Regions from separate parts of the Homo sapiens genome. Here region 1 is linked to region 2. Evidence: promoter capture Hi-C in 16 types of primary human blood cells and fetal thymus (Javierre and others, 2016). All regions are on one chromosome and are shown on one strand. Each heading gives the region's core, a stretch centred on a gene start or on the middle of the fragment in contact. The rest is flanking DNA. Distances are from core to core; before and after follow the strand shown. Region 1 overlaps TPD52-MRPS28 (TPD52-MRPS28 readthrough). Region 2 holds the start of PAG1 (phosphoprotein membrane anchor with glycosphingolipid microdomains 1).

The links. Contacts are between HindIII fragments. The CHiCAGO score rates a contact against its expected background, and 5 or more counts as called.
Region 1: a contact is called between a fragment that was not itself captured here and the fragment with the promoter of PAG1 in region 2, in 1 of 17 cell types (total B cells). The highest score is 5.4, in total B cells.

The regions. Positions count from the first base shown.
Region 1 is chr8:80,091,384-80,096,912 of GRCh38, forward strand. All of the region lies in intron 1 of TPD52-MRPS28 (TPD52-MRPS28 readthrough), which reads right to left. The region is part of intron 1 of TPD52 (tumor protein D52); the gene reads right to left. It overlaps LOC105375918 (a long non-coding RNA gene), which reads left to right. Exons shown (of 3, transcript XR_007060978.1): 3 at 323-841. Among named protein-coding and RNA genes, the nearest start is that of MRPS28, 64 kb to the left of the region's middle. The HindIII fragment of the contact is 2,027 bases long and covers 529-2,555 here.
Region 2 is chr8:81,108,222-81,113,799 of GRCh38, forward strand. PAG1 (phosphoprotein membrane anchor with glycosphingolipid microdomains 1) reads right to left here and starts at 3,847. Exons shown (of 9, transcript NM_018440.4): 1 at 3,370-3,847. RefSeq lists an enhancer at 3,293-3,362 and a silencer at 3,853-3,982. The HindIII fragment of the contact is 5,316 bases long and covers 1,466-5,578 here.

The DNA.
Region 1 (5,529 bases), core at 292-2,791, 1.0 Mb before region 2:
GCCTGAACCCAAGAGGCGGAGCTTGCAGTGAGCCGAGATCGCGCCACTGCGCTCCAGCCTGGGCGACAGAGACTCCATCTCAAAAAAAAAAAAAAAAAATACACAAAAGAGCATTACTATTTTCACTTCGGTCATCTCAGTACATGGTCCTGCCACTGTCATTGTCAGATCATGAGAACACCAGAAAATAGTGGAAAGAGAGCTTGATATTTGTCATATACTTAATTAGATACAATAGACAGATTTTTTCATTTTAGAAATAGAGTTTGAGTTGAAATGTTATGGTCACTCCACATACTGATGGGTGATTCCATGATTACAGGCTCAGGTAAAAGATCTCCAGCCAGTGCTTCTCAAATAACTTTATTACATACCAGAGCCACCAGGGGAGCCTGTGGAACTACAGATTCTGAGTTAGAAAGTCTGGGGTGGAGCCCAAGACTCTTGCTTTCTGGACAAGCTCCAGGTGATTTCTGATGCTGCAAGTCTGGCTTTAGATAACAGCTGCTAAGTTTGCCTGAGGATGAAAGCTTGAGTAAACTCTGAATACTGATGTTACAGGACTCCAGCACTTTCTAACTATATACATTTGAACATAAGAGACAGATTTTATAGCTAAAAAGGTTTGGCTTTTTGTATATATTTCTTATTGATACAAATATGTGTACATGTATATGGGGGCACAAATATGATACTCTATCACATGCTTACACTGTGTAATGATCAAATTAGGGGTTTGGGGCATCTATCACCTCGAGTATTCGTCATTTCTGTGTGTTGGCATTATTCCAAGTCCTCTTTTCTAGCTATTTTGAAATCTACAATACATTGTTGTTAACTATGGTCATCCTACACTGCTATCGAACATTAGAACTTATTCCTTCTAAGGTATGTTTGTAACCATTAACTAACCTCGTTTTATCCTCCCCCCACCCACTGACACATCTTCCCAGCACAGCCACTGTGAAAAACAGTATGGAGATTTCTCAAAACAATTAAAAACAGAATTAACATATTAATAGATCCAGCAATCCTACTACTGGGTATTTGCCCAAATGTAAAGAAATCAGATGTCAAGGATATTTGCACGTGCGCGTTTATTGAAGCACTATTCACAATAGCAATGATATGGAATCAACCTATATTCATTAATAGTTGAATAAAGAAAATTGTGGTATATATACACAATTTATTACTACTTGGCCATAAAAAAATGAATCTTGTCATTTGCAGCAACATGGGTGGAACTAGAGGTCATTATGTTAAGTGAAATAAGCTAGGAACAGAAATACAACTGTCACACGTTCTCACTCAAGTGGAGCTAAAAACTGTAGATCTCGTGAAGAGAGAGTAAAATCACAAATTCCGTGTTATACACATTCTACCACAATTTAAAAAAAAAAAAAGATCACATAATTATAAGAGGTGAGATTGTCACTCACACTTTAAATTACTGCCAGAGGCTGGGAAGAGGAGGAGTTGAGCAGGGGTGGGGGTAGGAATAAAGGATGGAATAAAGGTGGAAGGGGGAATAAAGAATATATTTATTACCAAGGAAGTGTACATTTCAAATGGTACAGATGGTAAATTATATACATATATTTTGTCTCAATTAAAAAATATAAAAACTATAAAAAATTAAATGTTAAAAATAAAAGATTTTGTTTTTTGTTTTTCTGAGACCCTAACAGTTCACAAAGCAGGCAAGTTCAGATAGGACAAAACCGGCTGTGTCACAACAGGGTGTGCACATGCTTGGTCTTTTCAACGGGATAATTATTTCGACTCTGGAATAATAATAATAATAATAAACAGAGTCCAGAATAATGGCTCAGTAATAAGAGAATGAAAGCAGGCCATTCTTACTAAAAGTATTAACAATGTATTTGAGAGTACAGTGGTCTCTATGGTGAGATTACTGGAAGATTAAAGAGGTGTCATCCAAGCTAAATGTTTCCAATTTGCTGAATGAGTTTAAAGACAGCTCTACAGGGGTGCATAAACACAAGCGACTGTCACAACCCTAAAAGGAATAAATGAACTGGTGGACTACATTTTAATGTGGAAAAAACTTCCACAATGCTTACACAGCTATTCCTGGCAATGAGAGGCTCATATGAAACACTTTTCCTTAAGGGAATGGGAGTTTCTAGAGAACAGTAGGCACTTATTTAAAATTAATATTGGACCACAAACTTCTATCATCAGCAAGCTGAGACCTAACAAACAAGATCAAAATACCAAGTCATACATTTAGGCAGTTAAACTTGCTTTTAAACTGTAATAAGCTAATTAGATGCATTCAGTGGGTCAACCATTAAAAAAAATATACACTGCACAAATCTTGTCAATTTTTCATTAAATTTTATTAAGAAACAAGAGTCCTGTGCCAAAAGTGATAGCTTCACCATCTGAACCTGCTACTCTGGTTAAGAAATGACATTTCCAATTCCAAATTTCACATACTTTCCTTTATAAAGACAATAGCAGAAGACCAATGCTACATGTAAACTCAATAGTAGCCCATTATCTTGAAACCAAATCAGTGTGTGGAAAGCTTCAAAACTTTCTTTGCCTTTTGGCACAAGACTGAAGACATGAGATTTTTTTTAACATCTGACCATAATAACTGCTGTATTAATCACTGTGAAGGCTCCTTGTTGACTTTTCTCAGAGTTTTATAAAACATCGCTATCAAACAGGTATTTATCAAAATAGGCATATAATTTTATTTATTCCAGGAAGCTCTCTCAGTGTTAAAAGGATAAGATAATTAACGTTTAGATGGAAAGAGAGCATGGGATGGAAAAATGCTCTCCTGAAACACAGCCAGATCTATGAAACCATACAATTACTGTCATGTCATCTCTGAAAGATCAAGTTAACAATGTGTATGATTTAATAATCTTACTTAATATGGCCAGGAATGCTAACAAATCGCCAAGCCAATTTGTTCTTATTCTTACGCAGGTAGCTAGACTACACCTCCCAGGCTCCTTTGCAGTTAGATGTGGCCATGTGACTAAGTTCTAGACAAAAGAAAATTTTATATATATATATATATATATATATATATATATATATATATATATATATATATATGTATGTATATATAACATGAGGGAGACATAAAGATTGTTGCCAATAGCCACTGAGATTTTGGGAGTTACTGATGGAAACATATTGCCAAATATAGCTTCAGATGTATTTCTTCAAATTCCTCTTTTAAAATGATCATATCCCCAGGTAAGAGTTTTGGAAACAGATAGTGGTGATGGTTACACAATGATGTGAATATGATGAATACAACTGAACTGTATACTTAAAAATGGTTAAAATCACAAATTATATCTTATATACACATATTCTACCATAATTTAAAAAAAAAATGATCACTTAATTATAAGAGTTGAAATAAGTTGGAACCATGATTAAGAAGTATTTTAAATACTCTTTCCTGAAAATATAAGCAAGACCTTTGTGTCCAGACTTGTTCAGAAAATGCTCTAAGTGAAGAAGAGGAAGCCCTGGGAGAGGCAGGCCTGGTTAGGTTGTCACAATAAGGAGGGTAATTGTCAGCAGGAGGAGAGATGCTGGGACCAAGAATATATCACAGATCCTTCAATTGCACTCCCAGGTATTTACCCAAATGAGCTGAAAACTTATGACCACACAAAACCCTGTAGTGAATGGTCATAGTGGCTTTATTCATGATCACCAAAAACAAGAAACCACCAAGATGTCATTCAGTAGGTGAATGGATAATAAACTGTGGTACATCCAGACAGTGGAATATTATTCAGCACTAAAAAGAAATGAACTAGCAAGCTGTGAAAAAACACAAAGAAACTTTAAATGCATATTATTGACAAAAGCCAATCTGAAAAGCCAAAATACTGTAAGATCTCAACTATGTGACATTCTGGAAAAGACAAAATTATGGAGACAGTAAAAAGATCAATGGTTACCAAGGGCTGAGGGGGAGGCAAGCAGGAATGACTAGGTTGGGGTGCTGGTGATTTTTAGGGCAGTGAAAGTATTCTGTATGATACTGCAATGGTGGCTACATATTATGCATCTGTCAAAATCCATTGAACTGGACAACACTAATAAAAACTACAGACTTTAGTTAATAATAATGTCTCAGCATTAACCAAATGTAACAAATGTACCATATGAATTTAAGGTGTTAATAATAAGGGAAACTAGGGGCGTGAAGGAACTCTGCACTACTTGTTCAATTTTCTGTAAACCCAAAACTGCCCTAAAATACAAAGACTAGGCCGGGTGCGGTGGCTCATGCCTGTAATCCAAGCACTTGGGAGGCCAAGGTGGGAGGATCATGAGGTCAAAAGATCGAGACCATCCTGGCCAACATGGTGAAACTCCGTCTGTCTCCACTAAAAATACAAAAATTAGCTGAGTGTAGCGGCATGCGCCCGTGGTCCCAGCTACTCAGGAGGCTGAGGCAGGAGAATCGCTTGAACCCAGGAGGCGGAGGTTTCAGTGAGCTGAGATCGCGACACTGCACTCCAGCCTGGCAACAGAGTGAGACTCCATCTCTACATACATACATACATACATACTATCGGCCAGGCACAGTGGCTCACGCCTCCAAGCCCAACACTTTGGGAGGCCAAAGCAGGCATATTGCTTGAGCTCAGGAATTTGAGGCCAGCCTGGGTAACATGACAAAAACCCGTCTCTATGAAAAATACAAAAATTAGTTGGGCATGGTGGTGTGCACCTGCAGTCCCACCTGCTGAAGAGGTTGAAGTGGGAGGATTGTTTAAGCCCAGGTGGTCAAGGCTGCAGTGAGCCATGATTGTGCCAATGTACTCCAGCCTGAGTGACAAGAGCAAGAACTTGTCTCAAAATAAATAAAGACTATCAAACACACACACACAAACACACACACACACACACACACACACAAACTTCTCCTAGTCTGCCTGGGGTAAAATACTCAAGCACCAAAACTCATCTGCTTGGACTATGGTCAAGGCTTCCTAAGTATCTGAAGTAGCACCAAAGAAAGCATGTTTACATGTACAGGCATACTCCTGTTTTACTGCACTCCACTTCATTGCACTTCACAGTATGTTTTTTACAAACTGAAGGTTTATGGCAACACTGTGTCCAGAAAGTCTATCTATTAGTGCCATTATTCCAGCAGCACATGCTCACTTTGTGTCTCTGCATCACATTTTGCTAATTCTCTCATTATTTCAAACTTTTTCATTATTATTATATCTGTTATGGTCATCTGTGATCAGTGACCTTTGATGTTACTATTGTAATTGTTTTGGGATGCCACAAACGACACCCATACAGGATGGCAAACTCAATCGATAAATGTTTGTGCTCTGACTGTTCCACAAACTGGCCATTCTCTCATCTCTCTCCCTCTCCTCAGGCCTCCCTATTTGATGAGACACAACAATATGGAAATTAGGCCAATTAATGTCCCTACGATGGCCTCTAGGTGTTCAAATGACAGGAAGAGTAGCACATCTTTCACTTTAAATC
Region 2 (5,578 bases), core at 2,597-5,096:
CAGGGGAACACTTGAAATTAACTATTAAGTAAGCAAAAGGGAATATCTGTTCTCTGAAAAGGAGGGTTCAAGTTGAAACAGAAGATAATTCAGAGATGTGAGATGACTCAGTCAATGGCAGGGGCTCTTTTGGGCACTTTGCAACTATGGTATTGTGTCCCCAGGCACATGGAGGCAGCCTACAGGAAGAGTAGAACTCTCGAAGAGTTTTGATTTTTTTTTTAAAGCCAACTTTGAGCATTTATATTGAAGCACCATTCAGTGTTAGCATACATTAGCTAAGAGATTTCATTAAACATTAAATCAGTCTGTGATTTAAATTAAATCAGACTGTGAGCAGTCTGTGGTCTATGTGCCCTATACGGCAATTAGATTTTAATCTCTAGAAATAAGACTTACAAAAGGCGAGAACACTATCTAGTATTTGGGTGATAACCTAACACAGCCACAAAAATGCCATGACCTCTCAATCATTCCCCACCTCTGGAACCCAGCTGAGAAGTCTAACAAGCTATGGAAACCTTAAAGGAAGTACTGCTCACACAGCACCCCGGAATCTGCTTCCCATGACATGGGGTACTAAGGCTTGAAGGAAGCATGCTTATTTAATGGTAAGTATAAATTATTTCTTTTTCTGAACATGCAGTTTAATATGAGGCAAAGTGCAAGGCCTCTCTCTGCCCAAGGGAGTTCTCCAGCTGGGACTGAATGCATATCCAGGGATGACGCTGTTTGTGGATTGATTACTGCTGCCGTGGTGGTTTCCTTGACTGTGTAGATTGCTGCAGCTACACGTGCAGGCAGGAAACCAAATGGAGACCACCACCCTCCAGTGTAAACTCTAACATCACACCAATTTTTCTTTTTTGACTCTCTGAATGCATGAATAGAAAAATAATAAAGCAACAGAATCCACTTCAAATTGAAAGACCTGGCACCTCTACCACACATTAGGAGGTATGGAAGCATGGGCAAGTTATTTAACAATAATTATGATCATTTCTGTTGTGGGTGCTGTTAAGCACTTTGCATACTTTAATCCTTAAGCTTAGATTTCTTCATGTATAAATTGAGGATAATAATGCAACTACTTCATTTGCAAGTTGAGGCAGCAGGGTCAAAAAGAACACAGTTTCAACACAGACAGACGTGGGTTAAATGCCAGCTCCAATTTCTACTATTTGATCTCACTGAGCTCCCATTTTCTCATCTCTAAAGTAGAGATGAAGCCACTTACCTCAAAGGACTGTGGTGGGGAATTGAGCAAGACAGTGTTAAATACCAGTTGGTGTCTGTATCGCTAGACAGTGCACAATAAATGTTTATACCTTCTCTCCTATTATACACATGAACTGCTTCTGTTAATATTCATCAGCAGCAATTCAATGTCCATAGCAGCAATTCAATGTCCATAGAGTCCAAAGATGCATTTCCTTTCATAACAATGAAAATTTTTCCCAGAACAAGCTTAATATGCCAGATACTGGCCCAACAGCTCTATGTCTATGAACTCATTTAATTCTCACTACTGTTCAGTGGGGTAGGTACTACTACTGTCATCCCCATTGTACAGATGAAGACACTGAGGCACAGACTTTGGGTTACTTGCCTAGATTCAAACAGATGGTACCAGAGCTGGCAGCCTGGCTCCATAGCCTGTCCTCCTAACCAGGCTGCAATAGGGCTTAATGGGTCAATCTGTTTGAGATTCCATGCTTGGATGTAATCTCTTCTAGAGATAAGCACTGGATGCTCTCACAAACCGCAATGTGTTGATGTGACTAACTTTTCAACTTCTGAAATAACATTTTGTGTATTTTCTTAGTATTCCTAAAAAAAAACCCTTTACACTTTAAATAAGGTGCCTATAACTAGTTCATCTTGTTCTGCATGCTGAAATACCATAAATAAATGCACTTCTCTCTTCAAAGATTATGTAAATAAATCTTACATTAAAACATACCCCTGAGCTTTGGTTTAAACAATAATTTCAAGTCCAAATTAAACATTTATGTATGTGTATATATATTTAGCAGGAAAGTCTTAATATGACCTATTTTGTTAAACTAATGACATCTATACCCAATACTCCAAATATTCCTCTTATTTATAATATTCGCTGTGTAACAGTCACACAGCAGTACTGCATGGTACTTCAAAGTACTATTCCTTTTACAAGTTTAACCAACTCAGGTATTAAACATCAATGATGATAATCCATAGCTCTGCTTAAAAGGAATCTCTCGGGAACAGCTGAGAAAGAAAGGTTAAAGATTTCTATCCTTCAAAGTAGGGCACTGCAGCTACCTATAAATCATGCTCTTTGTTTATTAAGATAATTAGGCCCATCAGTACACTTAACTTTTAGACTCAACAATTGTCTGGCATGAACAATTTCCACTTTTTCTAAAACAAAGGGGATGTGTTCAAAAAGCGGTCCTCTGCATGCTCTCTGCACAATGCATGCTATTTTAAAACATGATTTATGGGTCTAATTCCTGGAGCTGCCTTGAAAAATATAGTGGGTTGTTCCTCCCATGCTCCCTATTAGGAGAAGACACTCCAATTTGAAGAGTGCACTCTGTTTCAGACTTCAGGCCGCTATATCATGTCAGCATTTTCAGTAAATACTGTTCAATTGGACTTTAAACAAATGGAATGGAGGGCCACAGCTGCAGCCACTGCAGAGATAAAGTTATCCAGCCGGGAGGCTTACATAAGAGGTGCAGGACAATCAGGGTGAAATCCAAGTGTCATTATCTGAATCCTATTTCTTGAGACTTGCCTACATTCTTAAAGTGTATGAATTCACACGCCCAGAGCTCGTTTTATTTGCCTTAGGGCATAAAACACCGGGTCGACATATAAGTTGTTTTTTCCCTAAAGGACTAGGCTCCAATTATGAAAAGGTTGGCAACTTCTGCCTAGGGGAAGAGTAAAGCGGGATGCGCGGGAAGCCTGCAGGCCTGAAAGAAATGGCTCGCCCAAAGATCCATCGCAGTGCTGGCCACACTCCCCAGAGGAATTAGGATGGAGGTGACAAGACCCTGCCCAGCCCCTTCACCCCAACGTAAACACAGAGTCAAGGAGCTTGGAATGAATAATTAGCACGCAGCAGTCGAAATGCCCTAGGAGTACCTGTCCTCTCCCAGCATATTTCCAACTGGCACATTCGTGAGATGCTGAGGTCAGCCAGCCCTGGACTCCAGACCTTCCAGCTGCCTTGTCCCCTTCTTGGCACCCCGCACTCCCTCCTCGAGCTGGAACTCTGTTAACAAGAGGTGCCACCCTCGGCTTCCCACAAGAAGATAAAAACGAACCTCTCCTTCCCACGGCTCCCTCCAACTTCAGAAACTACAGTCAACTTACTGGGACTCAGGAGGCAGGGAGTCTTCCTGGCGGACGGCGCTCGGAGGCAGCCTCTGCAAACTCCGGCGCGCAGCGCCGCCGCCCCGGCACAGCCCGGCAGCAGCGGCAAGTGCAGGACCAGGCGCCGCCGCTCTGCACCAGTCGCCTTGGCTCAGCTGTGCCGGGCGCCGGGCATTCGCCAGGGCACACGACTCAGCGAGGCGGCGGCTGGGACTGAGGCTACTGCACCCGGCCGCGCGGACCCGAGCGCTGCAGCTGCCTCCAGCCCCGGAGCGCGGCGCTCCGAGCCCCTGGTGGGTGTCTCTGGCTCCAAGGGAATCACGGCTCAATTAGGGACCTGCCAGGAGAAAAACCGATGCGCTGCCGCAGGCAGAGCCGCCAGCCCGCCCCCAGTCGGCTGGTCACATCGCGGGCGCGCAGACGGACAAGCGAGCGGGAGGGTACCGCAGCCAGCACTCGCCGCCGCGCCGCGGAGAATGACAGGCGCCGAGGCGGAGCAGCCGCGCGGGGAGCGGGGCGCGAGTGCGCATGATCCTGGCCGCAGCGGCACGTCACGGGGGAGGAGGGGCGGGCCGCGGGGCGGGAGGGGGCGAGCCGGGCGGGGCCGGGCTGGGGGTGCACACGGGTGAGGACCGGCGCGGGGCCTGGCTTGCTCGCGGGAGGATGCAGGAAGTCTTCCCTGCCCTGATTTTATGAACCCAAAGCTCTGTGGTTGAACTTGTCCCAGGAGCCCATTGTCCTTTAAACAGCACCGTTTAAGCGGTCCTTAAGGTCCCTGGGGAGCCCACAAAAGCCAATTTAATTCAGGTTACAGCTTAACCGTAAAGGGTTGCCATTTGGGGGACAGTGATCTTCTATTGTGGCTGTGCATTAAAATAACTTGGGGAGCTTGTAAGAACCCTTTGCCCCGGACGCATCCCAGAACAAGTACAGGACAATGTCTGGGTGGGGCCCACCCAGGTATCAGTAGGTATCTAAAGATACCAAGGTACAGCAGTGCTTCTCAAACCCTCAGTGTGTGACAGAATCTCCTGCGGATTGTGATGAGATGCAAGATTCAGATTCAGTAGGCCTGGGATAATGAGGGAGACATCCTTTCTAACAAGCTCTCGGAGGATGCCAATACTGGAGGTCCAGACCCCCATCCTTGCTACTTAACGTGTGATCTAGAGCCTGGAGCAGAGCTTCTGAAACAGTTGGCCTGTCTGACAGTCACCCGAGGGGCTTATAAAAAACGCAGAACAAATGCCCAGGCCGTACCCCCAGTGATAGTGGTTCTGGCTCAGCCCCTGGCAAAGGTGGGCTTCTAGAATTCCATTTGGCATCAACACTCTAAATAAATCTGATAGGGGTTTTGTTTGGGCCAAACTTCAAGTTTACACTAGCAACCTGGAATTGGGAATAAACTTTTGCACTTACAAGGAGACAAACCAAGTCTAGAACTCAGGACATCTGACTTTGAGTCAGGGATTCTAAACCAACGGGTGCTTTATCTGACTAGTCCCAATTTTCTAAAATTATGATGCATTACTTAGCAAGAAAAAACATATAAATGGCATTAAATATACACACACACACTCTATTGAACACTCGTTACACATATCATTAATGGGAGCTTAAAGGTGGCTGGGGAAGAAGGCTCATCAGGAGAGGGTAAGGAAGACAGTGATGGAGTAAGGGATGTTGTTAGTGTGTCGCAGAGGGAAGGGTATGTGGGAGGAAACAGTTTAGACTCAGCCTACAGCTTGGAAAAGCCCATTGGGGAAGCGGACCCAGGAACCAGACTTGGCCTCTTGCTTCAGAGCATGGTATGAAACTCAGGTGTTTAAGAACTTATGGAGTATAACATTTCACATACGTTACCTCACTGAAATTTCACAGTGGTCTCTTAAGTTGAATAATAATATAAAAAAGTATCCCCATTTTATATATTAAAGAAGACATCCTGGACATGAGTTGACTAATGGTGGAACTTGAATAAAAGTAGGGATCTCCGTGTTGGACTTGGCTTCTACAACTCTGGAGAAGAGGACAATTTAGACCTTATAAAGCAAATGGTTTCTGTGTTTACTAGTCACATCTTTTACAGGCTGTGCCTAAATTTGGAGTTAGGAAGGCTTTCATTCTTGTGGGGAGGAAATACATTTTGTGTCTTCCAGTTTTGCTACACTTGTTAGGATACACTTAGAACAAAATGTTCTAAGAGCAA